Regions from separate parts of the Homo sapiens genome. Here region 2 is linked to region 1. Evidence: promoter capture Hi-C in human tissues and cell types (Jung and others, 2019). All regions are on one chromosome and are shown on one strand. Each heading gives the region's core, a stretch centred on a gene start or on the middle of the fragment in contact. The rest is flanking DNA. Distances are from core to core; before and after follow the strand shown.

What was found. Contacts are between HindIII fragments. The study calls those that stand out against the background at their distance.
Region 2: the fragment with the promoter of DNMT3L here is called in contact with the fragment with the promoter of AGPAT3 in region 1 in 4 of the 25 tissues and cell types used here (adrenal gland, dorsolateral prefrontal cortex, heart right ventricle and 1 more).

What each region holds. Positions count from the first base shown.
Region 1 is chr21:43,863,765-43,866,659 of GRCh38, reverse strand. AGPAT3 (1-acylglycerol-3-phosphate O-acyltransferase 3) reads right to left here and starts at 1,437. Exons shown (of 10, transcript NM_020132.5): 1 at 1,315-1,437. RefSeq lists silencers at 679-998, 1,119-1,468, 2,019-2,378. The HindIII fragment of the contact is 11,781 bases long and covers 1-2,895 here.
Region 2 is chr21:44,260,547-44,263,441 of GRCh38, reverse strand. It overlaps DNMT3L (DNA methyltransferase 3 like), which reads left to right and starts at 1,545. Exons shown (of 12, transcript NM_175867.3): 1 at 1,545-1,702; 2 at 2,176-2,288; 3 at 2,603-2,647. The coding sequence starts at 2,183. RefSeq lists an enhancer at 1,271-1,830. The HindIII fragment of the contact is 12,940 bases long and covers 1-2,895 here.

The sequences.
Region 1 (2,895 bases), core at 188-2,687:
TGGATACAAGAAGCGAGTTGTAACAGGCACAGGCTAACGCCGAACTCTGTGGGGGAGGAGGATTGGTTGGAAAGAGGGAGGGGGGGCGGCAAAGAAGTGGCCAAATCAAGAGAGTGCTCAGCATCCTCGGGAGACCCCTCTGAAGCTTTCAAACTGAGAAGACGAAGTTCAGCAATTCCTAAGCGAGTCGAGTCGGAGCAGCCGCGCCTGCAATTTAAAAGCTGCAGGATCCTGGGTCCCTCTAGCAGCCTGGGCCCGCCGCCCGCCCCACCTCCCAGCCCCCAGCAGGCTCTCGGCGTTGGCTTTCATTTTTAATAAGAGCCGCATGCTCATCACCCTCTGTCTGGAGGCCAACAGCCCACATCTTTCTTCTACTAAGATCATGTTTCCCAGGAAAAAGAACCCAACTGCTCAAGTATTCTCCTAGACAAAGCTTTTAAAATTGTGCTTTTTTTTTTTTAAAGGTCTGGGAAGCCATTTATAAAAGCATTTTCCCCATGTCACTAAACTTCTCTCAAAGTTAAAAAAAAAAAAAAAAACACTGCACCATTTTTAACTGCCTTCAAATACTAATAACCCTCCTTTCCTAAGTACTTGGGACCAATGTTCCAAGGGTCCTGGGGTGGCCAGGAGTGGGTTTTCGCCCCCACGGCTCTTGCCCCCGGACTGACCCCATCCCCTGACCCGCCCGGTGCAAACGCGCCGCCGGTCTCCGGGCCGAACCCACAGCCAACCCCGGGCCCCGCAGCCCTCCCCGCGCGGAGCGGCAAAAGTGAAACTGCTCCCTTGGCCTGGGCGCGCGAGGAGGAGGCCCCTGGGGGGGGTCCCGGGTCCGCCGCGCCCCGAAACCAGGCGGCGGGCGCGTCCTGTCCACGGGGGAGCCGAGCGGGGCCCGGAGCAGAGTCCAGGACGGAGGGATGGGACGTCCCCGCGGGAACCCACTCGCCCTCCCTCGGCCCGGCCCGGGCCCCTCCCGGGCGCCCCGAACCCCCGGGCCTCCCCGCTGGGCCCAGCGCCACCGAGGCTGCTGCGGGAAGCGGCCGGGGCCTCGCGCTGGACCAGGCCGCCGGGGAGGCCGGGGTTGCGGGGGGCGCACAGGACCCGGGCCCAGACCTCCTCCCGGCCCCGCGCCTTCCCAGGCCCCGCGCCCCGCGGAGCGCGGCCGGCCCATTGCGGCGCGGGGCCCCGGGCGGCCCGAGGTCGGACGGCTGGGGCAGGGGCGACCTCCGGCGGCGGGAGGGCGACCTCGGGCGGCGGCGGGGCGTGGGGGAAGAGGGGGGCGGCCCGACCTCGGGTGGGGGCCTCGGTGCTCACCTGCAGCCGCCGCCACCTGCTCGTCGCGCGGGCGTCCCCGGCGTCGCCTCCGCGGCCCCGCTCTGGCCGCCGCGCTCCTCGGCCCTGGGCCCGGCCCGGCCCTGCGTCGGGGCCTCAGCGAGTGCGGCGCCCGCCGCCCCCGGCCCCCATCCCGCCGCCCTCCGCCCTCCGCCCTCGGCCGCGCCGCCGCCGCCACTTCCTGTGCGCGGCGATCCCACAGTTCCGCCGGCGCGCGCGGGGCGGCCGAGGGACACGCTGGGGGGACACGGGGGAAGGACGCGGGGGGGGACGCGGGGGGACGGCGCGGGGGGGGACGCGGAGGGGACACGGGGGCGACACGGCGGGACACGCGCGCGGAGAGAGGTGTGGGCCGAGGGCGCCGGCGGGGCCGGGCGCGGAGCCTGCGTGGGATCCGCTAACGGACGGGGCTGGGGCCCGGGCTGGGGGAGGGGGCGGGCCGGGACCGCGGGGGGCGCGGGGATCAGGGGGGTCGGGGCTGAACGGGGGGAGGCGGCGAAGGACCAGGCTGGGGTCCCGCGAGGGCTCCCCCGGACCGGGTCGGGGGCAGAGGGGGCCGGGGCGCGGGGTGGGGCCGGGAGGGGCCTCCGAGCTCTGCCTGGGCCCCGCCATCTCCCCTGCCGGGGTCTCCTGCGGGCGCCGGGGAAGTTTCGCGCGCGAGCTCCTGCCCTGGTCGGCCGGGGCTTAGGGTCGCCGTCAGGGGTCGCCGCGCGGCGGGCTCGGTGGGGACGGCCCTGCGCGCAGCGGCTCCGCGGAAGGATCGCGTTTCGGCCCACGTGCCGCGCCCTTGGACTTATTCATAGTTGGCACCCGGCTGGCAACACTGTATCGACACTTGACCGTGGCGGGGGTGGGGGTCGCCCCGGGGCTGCCCTGCGAACCCCCGCGGGCGCTGACGCCGTCCCCTCCAGACCGCGGAGCCCTCTCAGCCCCAGGACAGCGGCTGCCGTCCCCCCTCCCTTGCACCTGGCCAGCGGCCGATCCCAGAACCTGCGGAGGCCGCGCAGGTGCCGCTGTCAGGGCAGGGCCCGCTGCGGGCTCCGCCTCCTGCGCCCGGTACCTTGTGTGACCTGGCGCCTGCTCAGGTCCTCAGGCCCCGGCTGGACTTGCTGAGCTTGGGTGGGCTTCATTTGAAAACCATTTAAAATACCAAGTACTGGTACTGTCTACTGTGCCCCTTTTTTTCCTTTTTTTTTTTTTTATTTTTATTATTATTGAGACAGGGTCTTGCTCTGTCGCCCACCCTGGAGTGCAGTGGTACAATCATAGCTCGCTGAAGCCTTGAACTCCAGGGCTCAAGTGATCCTCCCACCTCAGCCTCCCAAGTAGCTGGGACCACAGGCACACACCACCATGTCTGGCTAATTTAAAAAAAATTTTTTTTGTAGAAATGGGGCCTCACGGTGTTGCCCAGGCTGATCTCGAACTCCTGAGCTCAAGTATTCTCCCACCTCCTCCTCTCAAAGTGCTGGGATTACAAGTATGAGCCCCCGCACCCAGCTTGCACCTCCCTTTAAGCCTCCTCAAATTATTTCAGAAAATACTTAGACTAAAATAAAATGA
Region 2 (2,895 bases), core at 296-2,795, 400 kb before region 1:
GGTGCGGGGCACCCACCCAGGCGAATCCTCCCCGAGACGCTGGCCTGGGCCAGGGGCCAAGGGGTCATCAGGCTGCCCCTGTGTGGTCACCCCTCATGCAGTACTTGCAGAAGGAAGTCACCAGGCCCAGCCCACACTTCAGGGGGGTTACCTCCCGCAAGGGTCTTCTCCCACTTTCGACCAGCACAATTGTCCTGTGGCTCCAGCCCTGCCCGGCGGTCCTCCGCCCCCTGCTCTGAAGCCCCTAACCTCCCTCCAACAAAGTCCCCCTTCCCAACCCACCCCGCACCTCCCACACTGCCCCTCTGCCCACCCCACCTTCCTGCTCCCTTCCCTGCTTCCACGTTCCACCCCCACCCTGAACCTACCCCTCCCAGCTCCCCAACCCCCCACCTGCCCTGACATTCCCCACCCAACACCCCTTACCCCATCCTCCAGGGCCTTCCCTGTTTCCTTCTCTCCCCCACAGCTGCCCCCCAAACCTGGGGCTCCAGACTGAGCTCCCAAGCCCGGCTCCTGAACGCCCCTCCCTCTATCCCGCCAGAGGACCACCTCCCCTGAACACCCCCATCTCCTCCTCACCATCTACCCCCACCCCCACTCCCATCCCAACCGACCCTGAGATCCCTGAGGCCCATCCCCACCCCATTCTCACCCCTATCCTGCCCTAAAGGCCACCTCCCCTGAAACCCCCATCCTCGGCCTCACACCCCCATTCCTACTTTCACCCCGTCTCTACCCTTGCCCTGAGCCCCGACCCCCGCCACTGAGCCCTGCCCCGGAGTGCCCACCCTCACCCTATCATCACCCCCATCCCGCCAAAGGACCACCTCCCCTGAAGGCCCCCATCTCCAACTCAGCATCCACCCCCACCCCCACTCCCTAATCCCCCAACAGATCTCCCTAAGCCCCGCCCTCCACCCACCCACCCTGCCCTGAGGGCCACCTCCACTAATCCTCACCCATCTCCACCCAGGGGGCCAACTCCACCTAACCCCCCGCCCTGCCCTACCTCCACCCTCCACCCTCCACCCTCCACCCCTCCACCCCTCCACCCTCCACCCTCATCCCTTTCTTCACCCTTGCCCTGAAGCCCACCCCTATGACCTTCCTAAACCCCACCTCTGAGCGCCCTGCCCCTACCCCACAGCCACCCCTATCCCCCACCCCACCCCAAGGGCCCCCCTCTACTGAAACCCCCCTCATCTGCCCCATCCCCAGTCCTCCCATCTCCACCCCTCCCCTGAACCCCACTCCCCACTGAGGTCCCCAAACCCCACCCCTCACTCCACCCTGAGGGCCCCATCCTCTGAACCCCAATCCCCCAGCCCCACTGAGCTCTTAACCCTCCCCACCTGAGGGTTCCCTTTCCCTGCCCGTCCCCCAGCTTCCTAGCTCCCCACCCCAAGTGACCCCCCGCAGCTCCTCGCCCCTCCCACTGCAAACCGGCACTGAAGGGCTGCCCCGCCCCCGCCCCTCCCCGCCCCCGCGGGACACGCCCAGATTCTTTGCCCCCATAGCCTGGTGACCTCTGGCCACCCGCTGTCCCAGGTGGGCCTGGATCCTTCCAGCTCATTCTTTGCCTGCGCCGTCCCTCGTTCCATGGCCCAGTCCTCCCCGGGGACCCTGAGCCTGGAAGCCCCGGACCACTGGAACCTTGAACCCACCAGCTGGCTGTACCCGGAGCCGTGGCAGCAGCCCTGTGAGTCTCTTTCCTACTCCCTGACCATGCTGCCTTCAAGGGTGCGGCTGGCCAAGACCATCCCCAGGGGTCCCTGCTGGGCCTGAGGGACACTGTAGGAGGCTGGGGCATGGGAGTCCCTGAGGGGTCGAAGGCTGGGCCCAGAGGAAAGCAGGGGCTGCAGCGGCCATTGGCCCCAGGTCCTCATGAGGGCCCTGCCCTCCCCTTTTTGCCCCATCTTCCATGTTGTAACAGGGCCAGGCAGGTGGGGGGCACGCCTCAGGGGACCCTTGAGCCCCTCTCAGGGCTGGCACTGGCCTTGGCTGTCCTGCCCCTCATCCCTGGGTTGGGCAGGTGGGTGTCACCGCGGGGGTTCAGGTGGCCTGAACTAGTCAAGGTCTGCTCAGCAAGCTGCTTCCCGTGCTGGGGTGCATCAGGGATCTGAGCAGGGGCTGACGGCTTTCTCACATCTGTGTCCGTGTGTCCTGACACAGCATCCCCATGGCGGCCATCCCAGCCCTGGACCCAGAGGCCGAGCCCAGCATGGACGTGATTTTGGTGGGATCCAGTGAGCTCTCAAGCTCCGTTTCACCCGGGACAGGCAGAGGTGAGGGCTCATCTGCTTATTGGACCAGTCACTTAGGATGCTGATCCCAGGCCTGGATGAGGTCTGGAGTTCCAGGCTTCTGGAGTATTCATGCATTATTCAGGCACCCGGGCTGGGGCAGGAGGTTCCCCACCCACAGTCTTCCCCCAGGTATGGGCGTTTAACACACCAAGATAAGGTGTGAGGGCGGGATGGCAGGGGACCTCAGGCTCCTGTGACTTTGGAAAACGAATTGTGATGCTCACTTCCTGGCCGAATTTAAATTAAGAGATCAGAGGAAGAAGAAAGGGGCTACTTCTTATCTTCCTTTCCAGATCTTATTGCATATGAAGTCAAGGCTAACCAGCGAAATATAGAAGGTGAGTGTTTGCATACTGGCCCACACCAGACAAAAGAGACGGGGCACAGTGGCTCACACCTATAATCCCAGCACTTTGGGAGACCAATGTGGGAGGATCATTTGAGCCCAGGAGTTTGAGACCAGCCTAGGCAACATAGTGAGACTCTGTCTCTACAAAAAAATAAAAATAAAAATTAACCAGGCATGGTGGCATGCACCTGTAGTCCCAGCTACTCAGGAGGCTGAGTTGGGAGGATTGCTTGAGCT